Regions from separate parts of the Homo sapiens genome. Here regions 1 and 3 are each linked to region 2. Evidence: promoter capture Hi-C in 16 types of primary human blood cells and fetal thymus (Javierre and others, 2016). All regions are on one chromosome and are shown on one strand. Each heading gives the region's core, a stretch centred on a gene start or on the middle of the fragment in contact. The rest is flanking DNA. Distances are from core to core; before and after follow the strand shown.

The links. Contacts are between HindIII fragments. The CHiCAGO score rates a contact against its expected background, and 5 or more counts as called.
Region 1: a fragment that was not itself captured here is called in contact with the fragment with the promoter of NALCN in region 2 in 1 of 17 cell types (erythroblasts); the score reaches 5.6 in erythroblasts.
Region 3: a contact is called between a fragment that was not itself captured here and the fragment with the promoter of NALCN in region 2, in 1 of 17 cell types (endothelial precursors). The highest score is 7.3, in endothelial precursors.

Annotation. Positions count from the first base shown.
Region 1 is chr13:101,899,677-101,903,527 of GRCh38, forward strand. All of the region lies in intron 1 of FGF14 (fibroblast growth factor 14), which reads right to left. Among named protein-coding and RNA genes, the nearest start is that of FGF14, 15 kb to the right of the region's middle. The HindIII fragment of the contact is 403 bases long and covers 2,227-2,629 here.
Region 2 is chr13:101,414,640-101,419,134 of GRCh38, forward strand. NALCN (sodium leak channel, non-selective) reads right to left here and starts at 1,869. Exons shown (of 44, transcript NM_052867.4): 1 at 1,674-1,869. RefSeq lists enhancers at 670-1,220, 1,221-1,771. The HindIII fragment of the contact is 9,792 bases long and covers 1-2,723 here.
Region 3 is chr13:101,143,436-101,147,722 of GRCh38, forward strand. NALCN (sodium leak channel, non-selective) reads right to left here. Exons shown (of 44, transcript NM_052867.4): 16 at 1,325-1,461. Among named protein-coding and RNA genes, the nearest start is that of LINC00411, 200 kb to the left of the region's middle. The HindIII fragment of the contact is 3,192 bases long and covers 1,355-4,287 here.

The sequences.
Region 1 (3,851 bases), core at 1,178-3,677, 490 kb after region 2:
AAGTGAAAAGCAATATATTCTGATATAAGGATATATCTACCAGTAAGATATAATAATGTTATATTAGCCTATAAAGAATGAAGGCAAAAACTGACAGGTCTGGAGGAAATATAGAAAAATTCACAATCATAATGGGAGATATTTAATGCAGTTTGCTTCAGTAACTGATAAAAATGGAGAAAAGAAAGTAAATTAAAAAATAAAAATTTGAACTACAAAATCAGTAGACTTAATGTAATTGTCATACAGAGAATATTGCACCTGGCTACAAAATAAAACATACATTTTGTTTTCAATTTGCTATTTTATTTGTTCTCTGATTATGGTAGATTTAGTCTAGAAATTTAGTAATTTTTTGTTATAAAAAGATAACCAGACAATTGTTAAATATTTTGAAATTAAACAAGCACTTCTAAATAATCCTAAGTGAAAGAAATCACAGAATAAGAAAATATTTTACTAAGTGAAAATTAAAATATAACAGAGAGCTACTTTTTAGTGTAGCTAAAGCCATGACTACAGGTAAATTTACCATTTTCCATGAATGTTTAAATTCTTCAATGGCTTAAAATCAACAAGCTTACAATTTATACTTGCACAAAGTTAAAAGAACGCAAATTTAACCTAAAGGAATTAAAAACAAATAATAAAATTAAGAAGAAATTTTAATACAAAAAAATTACAATAGGAAAAATCAGCTAAGCCAAAAGTCACTTCTTTGAAAAAGACTAAATAAAATTTAATACACCCAAACGAAACTGCATGAGATAAAAGAGAAAAGGTACAAGTCGTCAATCTCAAAAAAAGGGGGACTTCACTACAGATTTTATGAACTACTAGCAGAGATAACATGAATGAACCTGCAAATACAATATTAGGTAAAAGAAGCCAGACACAATAAAGTACATGCTGCATAACATCATTGATATATAGTTTTTTCAAGTAGGCAAGACTAATATATTGTGTTAGAAGTCAAGAGAGTGGCTGCTTTTAGTTTTCATTGATTGGAAAAGCACATGAGGAGCGTTTCTTGGGGGCCGGGTAGTGCTCTATTCTTGATCCGCATGGTCTTCACACAAGTGTATTTATTCACTCTGTAAAAATTAATTAAGTTGTGTATGATTTGTGGACTTCTTTTAATGTGCATGTTATATCTCAATAATATTTATTTTGAAAGTGAAAGAGCATTTTGAATGTAAAAACTGCTATATTTATGAAATAGAATTAAATGACCTCCATATCATCTTCAATATATAGGTTATTTAATAAATCTGCCCAAGTGCTCTACTCTAGGAATTTTGTGTATCTTCAACTTTAGTCTTGCTTGAGAAATACTGAAAGGATTTTCTCATCAAAATAAAAGAAATGCCTTTTAGAGGAGAAATAAAAGCTAGGAATGGACAGAAAGAGGATTATAATTTTTCCCACAGGTTGGGAAGAACATTTATTCTGTTAGGTTGTCTCCTGGATTTTATGGTGTTTCAAATTTTATGAAACAAGAAAATATAAAGAAAGTCTTTCTGAAAAAAAAAATATGGTGGAATTCCTATTATTGAAATAGCAACATTTGCGAGAAAGGGATGGGAGAAGATGAACTAAAGCCATAATTCTTGATGTCTCCCTCCCACTTCCCAAGTAGTGACTTCCAAATCTGATTTCTTGCAACTAGCCCTCTGTCCATTTTTCTTATTTGTTATCAAAGAGACCCCAAGTGAAGAGGGAGTCATATCAAAATGGGGAATTCAGATGGGATGCGGTGGCTCATGCCTGCAATCCCAGTACTTTGGGAGGCCGGGGCGGGTGGGTCACCTGAGGTCAGGAGTTCAAGACCAGCCTGGACAACATGGTGAAACTCTGTCTGTACTAAAAATACAAAAATCAGCTAGAGGTTATGGTGTGCACCTGTAACCCCAGCTGCACAGGAGGCTGAGGTGGGAGAATTACTTGAACCCCAGAAGTGGAGGTTGCAGTGAGCCGAGATCGCACCACTGCACTCCAGCCTGGGGGACAGAGCAAGACTCTGTCTCAAAAAACAAACAAATAAACAACCCAAAAAACCCAACTAATCAAACAAACAGATACGCGAGGAGTTTGTGCAGAAGAAATAGAAAAGTACTACTACTACCATAGATTATATGACCCAGGAAAAATTACTTAACATCTGTCAGTTTCCATTCTTTCGTTTGAAAAATAAAGAGAATATTATCTACTTTAAAGGGTTTTTTAAGCTTTACTGAGACATAATTAACATACAAAAATGCAATTCATTTTGATGAGTTTGGACATATTCATATACTTGTGATACCATCACCACATCAAAGTTTTTGTGAAGTTCAATGCAGATAATGATGAAGTTTGATGAGCTAAGATATTGGTTGCTTTATTTTTACTTGAAACCATAGGAATATCTCAGTTTTATCAATTTAGCAACATTCTTAGATTATTCAAAACAAAAAGTGCTTAAAGAGGACCATATACTTAGAGCCACTCTGAGATGAGAATATATACAAGAGTAGGCAAGGTCCCCCATCCCAAGAATTCTGGCACCTACATTTTAGAGGTTTATCGCTCCCTTTTTTTTATTATATTATTATTTTCTGTCCTTATGCTCTTTCTCTTTCTTTTTTTAAGCTTCTTGGCTTTTCTTGTGTCTATCTAAGGTTCTTTACAGTGTCCAGAGGTATTTAAATGAAAGAGGCTCATACGTTTCTTAACAACAAACCCAAGAGACAAATACCCAATATTTGTGTGTGTTATATAGTTTCTTAATTGGAACTTTAAATACCATGCCAATATATGCAGTTTACAGCCCACCCCATTTTTCCTCATGAAACAAGATGCTTGCAGCCAATAGTGATGCAGCCAATATTGATACCAAGCCACTATTAACTCATATGTTTAATCAAACCATCTGTGTGTAATACAATCTAAATGAAATCACCTTAAATGCAAGCGCCAGTAAGTGCAGAATAACTAACTTCCTGAAGCCATAAAGCAATTCTCTTGACTTATAATTATTTTCTTCACTTGCAAAATTACTATTTACTGAGAGTTTTATCAAGGGATGTCTTTCCTGCTCAAAATCCTGTCATGGTTTTGAGAATCTGAAATTTCACTGGCTGACTGCTAATCAGAAACACATTAGTCTAGCCTTCTTTCAAAGGAGGCACTTTTAATAAAAATCTAATAGCTTTAGTTCTATGTTTGAATAATGCAACTTATTAAAATTGAGAACCTCACTTATTTAGTGCTTCTCTCTCTCTTCCAAAGAAAGCCAGCTGATACTGTTATCTCAAACTGGTTAGTATCCAGTGGTCTCAGTTTTCTAGTTCATCCAATGTTGCCATCTAGATCAGCTTGCCAGTTTTCTGGGGTTTTTTGTTTGTTTGTATATTGCTCTTTTCCAATGAATTCTAGTGGCTATTTAGAAGCATGCATGCTGTTGCTGAGGAATATGTTCAATATTATCTACCAGAACTTCAGACTGAAGATCTGAAATTCCTGTGAGGCAATTTGACATTCATTTAAGTTACAGATCAGAGTTGTGGAGACTCTAATTGTGGTGTGTGTGTGTGTGTGTGTGTGGTCATTCATGTTAGTTAGACCTCTTTTCCTAGGCTTGTCATTATTTCCATATTTCCTCATTGAAGCTTTATTCTCTTTAAATGGGTTTTAACTTTGCACCTAGTGTGACTGCTGTTATGTACACAAGCTGTAATTTTTAAAAATAATTCTGTACAGATTCGAACCCTAGAAGAAAATAATGAGACTTGTTAAGATAAAACAAATAAAAGTGTCTGGAAGAATCGAGTTCTATAAATACTGGGAGGCATTAAACAGACTTTTAGTGG
Region 2 (4,495 bases), core at 619-3,118:
AACTAAATGACACTATTTTGAGTAGACTTTTTTTAAGTACATTTTTTAAGTACATTTCTCCTTTGAATATCTTGCAAGTCCTATCCAAAGTTATAAGTGTACAACCACTATTTTATAAGACATGCTTTCTCCTAGAGTTCTGTAGAGATTTTAGCATAGTCCTTATCAGTGACGGCACATTTATTCTGCAAACAGATTATGTCTTCTATGAACACAGAAGAGGATCCAACTGAACCTTTTCACTTTTTAAGTTTTTCTCCAAAGCTGGATTTTGTCTTCACACTGTCTGGTTTTAGCAGTGGCTAGGTCAAAGTATACTACAGAAGAACGAAAAATCGACTCTAGAAAAGCACGCAGAATGACAGCCAACCAGTTAGGGAGTAAATGTTTCTCGTTGCAGATGTTTGGGAAGCCATGATTTTTATTTAGAACTGTGGAAACCTTATCTTTGAATTTAAAAAGCCAGTCCTGAGATGCATCTGCCTCAGGGGTAACTACCATAGTGAAACCGCTCCTCTCCCAGGCCATATCAAATCACAGTTGTAGTTATGAACATACAAATCACACACATATATATATATATATACATACATATATATTTCAAAATCGCCACCTGTTAATTTTTGATCCCCTATTAGAGGTGTTATCCACCAACTACTAACACGAAGGTCACTGGTCCTCAACCCACATTTCACCACCAGGGCAGTCGGGCCTAGCTGATGACCACACGAACACCAGATTAAGAGTAAAACCTTCTGAGGCCTGAAAGTGAGCGTGTATTCACACATCCTTAATAATACAGTGTCTGAAAAATTGTACCTGAAACTGAAAGATTTATTCTAAGGTATTTCAAGCACTAAGGGTCTGAGTTCAGCATTCTCACACCATCCTGAAAGAGGAACATTAAGTCAGCAAAATGACTGCGATCTGGGCCCCCAGAGGGATCCCAGCCAGGCCATCCTTGCTGGTGTCTTAAAGATTCAGTGACAAAATGGTGTTGCTTGGCAGGACACTGTTTTGCGTTCGGTGTAGCCACCCTAATGACGGCTGCTTAACAAGGCCAATGAATATCATAAGGGACATTTAGCAAGGAGCAATCCACAGGAGCATGGGGGTGGGGCAAGGCCGCGGAGCCCCCGCGGAGACCTGCTGGAGCCAGGCTGCCCACCCCCACCTCCCCACCCGCGCGTTGGCCCAGAGGTTTACCCAGGCAGCGGCCCTGGTGCCGAGGGGGCAGGTGCAGCGCTGTAGTGATGCCCAGTGGCCTCGTCCTCAGCCACCTGCCCCCCAACACCTGCTAGATGCCCAGGCGGGGCAGGCCCGAGGTGTCGCCGGCCCTGGGCTTCCCAAGCCAGCCCAGGGGCATCCCGCGGCAGGCGCCCCCGACACCCACGCGCAGGAATAGGGAGGGCGCATCGCGGCTCCCGCGCCCCGGCCAGGCCGGCAAGGACCCCACCGCCCCGCTCTCGGGTGGAGGCGCCCCTCCCCACCCCTCCCCCGCGCGGGGCCCCCGCCCGCAGCCCCTCTAGCAGCCCCTCTCGCAGCCCCAGCGCCCCTGAGCCGTCCTGGCCCGGACCGGCCAAGGAACTAACGAGCGCGCATCGCGGGCCTCGGGCGCAGGGCACGGAGCCGGCCGCGCCGCAGCCTCCCGGGCACCGGCGGCGGTGACCAACCTGTAACCCCAGCGCTCAGAGCTGTCATGGTGCCCGCGGGCGGCGGCGGCGGCGACAGTGGGCGACCGGCAGGATCAGTGCCAGGCGCGGCGCCCAGGGCGGGCGGGGACGCGGGCCCCTCACCTACGGCGGCTCAGCTCAGGCAGCGCGCTCGGCCCGGCTGGGGCCGCGGCTCACGCTCGCCGTGTCACTCACTGAGCGCCGCCGCCGCCGGGCAGGCTGGGGGAGGGGTGGGAGCCGGAGTTTTCGGGCCTTTAAAAAATTATTATTTTATTTAAATTTTTAAAGTTAGCTTTGCTACAGGGACTGCAGTGATGCCGAAGGGCGGGCACCGCAGAGGAGGCTGCGCCGCAGTTGGTGGGGAGCGCCAGGGTCGGTACTGGCAGTTCCTTCTTGCCGGCTGCCACCCGCAGTCAGTCTCACAGCAACAGCTAGGCTCTCATCTGCGAGCTCCTCTCGGGGGTCTTTCGTACTCAACAGCACGGCGGCGGTGTGCACGGGAGTCCGCCGGGCACACGCGGGGTACACTTAAGTGCACTGCCAGGAGGCCGGGAGCCCAGCGTGCGAGCGTGAGGTCAGACTGTGCACGGTACCGAGGACTAGTTCCATTCCTGAGTATGAAAGGGTGAAACCGTTCACCTCAAGTTTCACCCCGGAGTTATTAAATAATGAATGCATCAGTCACACTTATAGTTTTCTAAATAGGTTGACGTTCGCCTTTAAAATTAAAATATGTTGTCGTGTGGATGAGACAAAGTCTATTCAGAAATTGACAGTCCCCCACCCCATACCCTGTGAGTATACCTGGACAGCAGACTGCATCTGAGGCTTCCTAGGGCTCCCAGCAGAGCAGGTTTAGGGAAATCTGGCCTCCTAAGCACCATGCCCAGGGCGACATCCTCCCACTCATTCCCACTCTCTGAAAGGTTTACTTTGGGTCTGGAATCTTGCCATGTAGTCAGATACGAAAATCCCCAGGGAACTCCTGACCAGTGATTTAGACATCATGCACACAGGCATATAAATAAAGGGAAAGAAACAACTGAATGAAGCTTTCTCTACAAGAGAAATTCTAAACAAAGAGCATTTGTCTATCACAAAATGTTATGTGGCAAGGTATAGAAGTAAAACTACACAAACCTACATTTTAAAAATGTATTTTCTGGTTACAGATATTTAATTAATCTACTTTCTTAAAAAGTCCATTCACAATTTGTTCACATTCATAATCCATATTAGTACGTTTTATTGTTTACAGGGAAATGTTAAAATATTGGTATTTCATGAAATACAGAGTCATGCGAGATAATTTTTCAAATTTCTAAAGACTTCAGAAAAACTGTGTCAAAAGCCAGGTTTTAAACAAATGATGAAATCACTCCTCATAAGAAAAAATTGACAGTAATTTAAACAATGCTAAATCTACAACCAGTTTGCTTAGAAAAAGTATTTACCAACTTGTTTCATCATCTTTATTTGCGGCTTTCAATTGCTTGTTCTAAATACTAGTTTATTTCACAAACTGAAATATATAGCTATATATATATGGTAGCTGAATGATAGTGTGTTATTCCTTGACATTCGTTCGAATTATCTGTTAGTAAATTATATTAAGGAAATATTTAAACATTTATTTATAATGTTTTGAAGTGGTCAAGGCAGTGATTTTTTACTAATCTCAGTGCCACTCCTCACCCAACAGGCATTTCAGACCTTTCTCTGTCCTTGGTTGAACTACCTCTGTTAAGTCTCTATAATTCATGCTCATGAGCCAAACAATCCCAATGATGATGGAGACAGTCTCAGAGAATTCATGGGCTTCAAGGAAGTCATGGAATCCAGCACACTCATCCTATAATGCATAGGGATTCACTGTGTATTGGAGTAGACAATCATTTTAAAAAACAGGTACATCCAAAATATCATAGTACCCCTTCTACCTGCTCAGTATCTCTCTTCTTTTGTTTTCTTTGTTATTTTTAGAGACAAGGCCTATCTCCGTTGCCTAGCCTGGAGTGCATTGATGTGATTATAGCTCACTGCATCCTCAAAGCAAAAGTAGAAAGGATGAACAAATATCTTTTCCAGGTTGAATTGGCCCTGTAACTACATTCATTGCTGGAATCCAGTAAAAGTCAATTGCTGGCCTGTGGGTTCAATATAAACTGAGAATATAATTCAGGTGTGTTTTGTATGACTCAATGTATATTGTTGACAAATTAAGATCAATTACCAACATTTGAAAACCACAAGAATTTTATTTTATCAGGAAAAATAGGAAGATATGGATAACAGGCAGCCTCCACCATGCCCAGCTAATTTTTGTATTTTTAGTAGAGACGGGGTTTTGCCATGTTGGCCAGGCTGGACTCGAACTCCTGACCTCAGGTGATCCACCCACCTTGGCCTCCCAAAGTGCTGGGATTACAGGCGTAAGCCACCATACCTGTAGGAGTCTGAGGCATGACAATCACTTGAACTGGGGAGGCAGAGGTTGTGGTGAGCTGAGATTGTGCCACTGCACTCCAGCTTGGTTGGGTGATAGAGTGAGACTCCGTCTTGAAAAAAAAAAAAGGAAGGAAGATCTGGCCAGGTCAGTTCTGCATTCCCAAGTGGTAGGGGGCCAATAGGGGCATCCTGTGCCTCCCATAGGTGGGCATATACTTCCCATTTGCCTCCATGTCCCCAGCCTGCTTCAATTCCTGGCCCTGGAAGGTGTTTGCATGTAGGAGCCTATACAATTAAATCTGTATTTGACGGTATGAGATTGGGGAAAGGATAATGTCAAACACAGAGAAAGCAGTCAATACAGAAAGTTTTAC
Region 3 (4,287 bases), core at 1,701-4,200, 270 kb before region 2:
TATTACTCAGTAACCGATGGTAGTTTTTTGAATCTTTTTTTTTTTTGAGACGGAGTTTCACTCTTGTTGCCCAGGCTGGAGTGCAATGGTGCAATCTCAGCTCACCACAACCTCCGCCTCCCGAGTTTAAGCAATTCTCCTGCCTCAGCCTCCAGAGTAGCTGGGATTACAGGCATGCGCCACCACGCCCAGCTAATTTTGTATTTTTACTAGAGATGGGATTTCTCCATGTTGGTCAGGCTGGTCTCGAACTCCCGACCTCAGGTGATCTGCCCGGTTCGGCCTCCCAAAGTGCTGGGATTACAGGTGTGAGCCACCGCACCCAGCCCAGTTTTTTGAATCTTATTGTGGTAATAAAACACTTTTTTTCCCCCTCTAAGACTTGGAAGAATTAGTTGCTCTCTCTAAATGTCCATTTATCATAAGAATGACTAAGAGAGAATTTTACATTTTAAGACTCAAAAGCAAGTGCGTTCATCTGATCTTCAAAGCATAACGAAAATTCAAGTAACGTCTCTTCAAATTACCAAATTCAATTAATTTTGTTTTTTAAAATTAGAAATGCAAATATATTTCTACCCGAATTTTAAATATTATGGCACCATATATAGTCTCATACTTTTATAACCCCCCACAGAATTATTTTTAAAGCTAGTAACATATTACTGTAATTCTGTTTGTAATTTCTTGAGCTATAACTAGAAGAATTTCCTTTTATTATTAAAAATAGGTGTTTAAAGCATCTTTTATGCATTTGCTTAACTGGAGGGCAAACGTGGTAGAAAATCAAATCAGTATGAGTGGAAAAACGCCACGGTTCTTCTTTTAAAAAGTGGAAGGCAAATTATATATGGTAACCTGACATGGTAGGCTCCATAAACACTGTAGTAGTACACAAACTGGGCCAGCTGTGGTTTCCCTGTTTGCTTGAAAATAAAAGGGCCACAGAGGCAATTTTAGTCTCATACGGTTGGGGTCTGAGATTGATGTCTACCTGCCATCCCTGCAACACTGAGCAGCTTCTCCAGTTTCCTGGGATGTCCCATTCCCGAGGAGTCATCCCAGAGAGAAGCGATGGGAAGCAGCCTTCTTGCTTAGGCTACTGCAGTTATAAAGTGACTCTTCTGTGAATACATTGCTTAAAAGAGTCAAAGTTGTTTATTTATTTATTTATTTTAAATAGAGGTAGAGGTAGTAGAAAGATGACAATAAAATAGAAAGAAACCCAACCCACATATACTTAAAAGAAGGGTTAAATCAGATTTAAGATGATGAATCTTTTACAATATATGTGAAATATGCAATTAAAGAAGTATTTTGGTACCTGATTTTAGGAACTGTAAAATCTGAAGGAAGCTTTGAGATTTTCACCATTTGAGGTCTGTTTGGAAATTTTTCAAAGATTCGCAGGCGTAAAGGGAGCTTTTCTTTGGTGTCCGCATTTGCTTCACTTTGCTTTAACTAAAGAAAAATTGGAAAGAAGAAAAAAAGGGGGAACCTATAATACTATTATATACGTTACACAAAATTAGTTTTAGAATGGAAGCAATAAGTAATTACATGAAATGCCAGTAGATGGCAGCAAAGGCCTACCAAGTATACCTCTCTTGCCCGCCATAAATTGCTCTATGAGCTAAAACTTTTGAGTTAACAGAAAAAACAAAAACAAAACTTAACAACAAAAAAACTAAACCAGAAAAAAATTCAAGGAAAACTTTATGTCATTTTATTCCCAAAGACAAGTCTCTTTTCATCTCAGACATTTTTAATGGTTTACTATTACTTGCATATTTAAACAATAAAATTTGTTTACACATGCCTAACGCTAGAATTAAAAATTTTTAAAAACCATGAAAAATTTAAAAAAAATTAACTACAGAATCATACTAAGTAGTAGCATTTGTAAAGAGAGACAATGGCAGGAAAATTGGTTATGTCGCCTAGCAGATTAAAACAGAAAAGCTCAAAACACAAATACCACATTTGGTCCATGCAGCGAGTTTTCCATTTGGCTGCAAACATGCTTGGACACGACGAACTTAAATGCCATATGATATCTTTGTGAGGAATGACAATCAAATGGATTTATTTAAGAGTGTATATTTATATTTCTACAAATTGAGTTTCAGGGAAGCTCAGGTTTAACATCATAAACTGGAACAAGGCTGAACTAAGATACTACAAAGGTGGACTGTGGCTTCCAGAATTCATGCTATACTTTCCTATGCTCTCTTTTTCTCTCCCAGTGCCGACGTCTCTTGGAGTCCCTCTTTACTTCTGTTTACCTCTCCCCTTCTCCAGGACCTTCTGCAGAGTGGAACACCCTTCCCCACGTCTGCCCTGTCTTCTGTCCCGGCTTCCCAAACTGCATCTTTTAACACTGATGCCTTTCAAAGAGTACATGTAATTCAGGCTGCCTTTTTGGAGGGATTTGGGGGGTGGGTTTCAAAAATCATCCACTCATTTACCTCCTTGTTGGGTATGGTTTTACTCTATAATTTGTTTTAGGAATTATGGAAAGATAAGAATTAGAGGCCAAGAGAGCTTTTAAAACAGGAAGAGAGATGGCAATGCATCCCTCCTATATGTGGAAATACAAATTGGCTAAGGAGAACAGGAGGGCTTCTTTTTGGGGAAACATTCCCATTTCAATATGATGGATGACTCAACTATCCTATTGGTTGTGAGCTCATGATGAGATTATACATCCTGATTTCTGGTTTTCTTATTAGGCTGCAGAAATCGCTCTTATGTTTTTGTTTTGTGTAACATAAACATTTACCTTAGCCATTTGTAAGTCTGATTTGATTTTGTGGGTAGCCTTTGGTTTTTCTGTCTTAGATGGTAATCTTATTTGGAGAAGGAGTCACTGCTGTTCGTTGCCTTCCTCCCTTCCTAACTGGAGTGCTCAACGCAGTAATGTGTGCAAAATGGCACGTTCTCAACAGTTCCATGGTTATGATGATGACAATGGTAAGGAATTAGCTCCCAAAGACACAAAACAAAAAGTAGTAGCATCTCTGTGAGAGGTACACAGTTAGAAAAATGATTCCACACACGAGTAAAGAGATTTACCAGGAAGAGTCTTGTTTTCTAAAAGTTGATACAACTAGTAGAAAAATACTTGTCAGTGGTAAATAGAGCAGAAGTAGAAAAAGCAGTTAATCTATTAGATCAGATCAGAGTGTAAGGCAGGTATATCAGGCCAAAGGTGATAAGACAGAGCAGAAATAAAGTATTGTTAATTCATGCATTTGCTGACTCATTTATTTATACATTGATACTGTCACTTATAAATCAAATCTTACAGGTCAGGTTCTGTGCTAAGCTCAGGGGATATAAAAAGAAATAAGTCACTGCACTCGCCCTCACGGAGCCCACAGTATAACTGGGTAGATAGTTCTATAAAGAGACAATGATAATAAAATAGAATGGCCACTCTGGCAGATATAGGAACAGAGTGCTCGGAAACACAAGGTATAGAGCAAAGAGAGAAATAAGAAAAAAAATGAAGGCACTACTTCTACTCCACGAGACTTCACGGGCAGCAGAATAGACACACGTGGTCAGAAGAGTTGACTTGGGGGCTCTAGATGTATCAGGACTGGTATGCATATTTTATGAGAATTCAATGTCTTCAAACAGACACAAGGGCAAATGGTATATTAATTGGGACATATCATTGAAATGAGAACACAGAGTTCTTTCCTAAAAGCCTCTAGGCCTGCCCACTGCCTGCATCCCCACCAGTGCCTCCCTGGCCAATGCACCACTGGGTTCCTGCATTTCCTGCAGTGCTTTCTCCATCTGCTTCAGCTCTTTCTAATCTGCTCTTCATTCTGCGGTTATTGCCATTTCTCACGCTCTGTCTTAAAACTTTTCAATGGCATTCCACTGCCTTTTTCTTCCTCTCTCTCTCTTTTTTTTTTTTTTTTTTGAGATGGAGTCTTGCTCTGTCTCCCAGGCTGGAGTGCAGTGGTGCGATCTTGGCTCACCGCAACCTCTGCCTTCTGGTTCAAGCCTCAGTTTCCTGAGTCGCTGGAATTATAAGCATGCACCACCACACCTGGCTACCCACTGCTTTTAACAAACAAACAAAAAAACTTTTGTTTTAACAAACAAAAACAAAAATATAAACTTTTCTTTTTTAAAGATATGGGATCTTGCAATGTTGCCCAGGCTGGCCTCAAACTCCTGGGCTCAAGGGATCCTCTTGCCTCAGCCTCCTGAGTAGCCGGGACTACAGGTGCGAGCTGCCATGCCTGGTCAAAATCTCAATCTTCAATC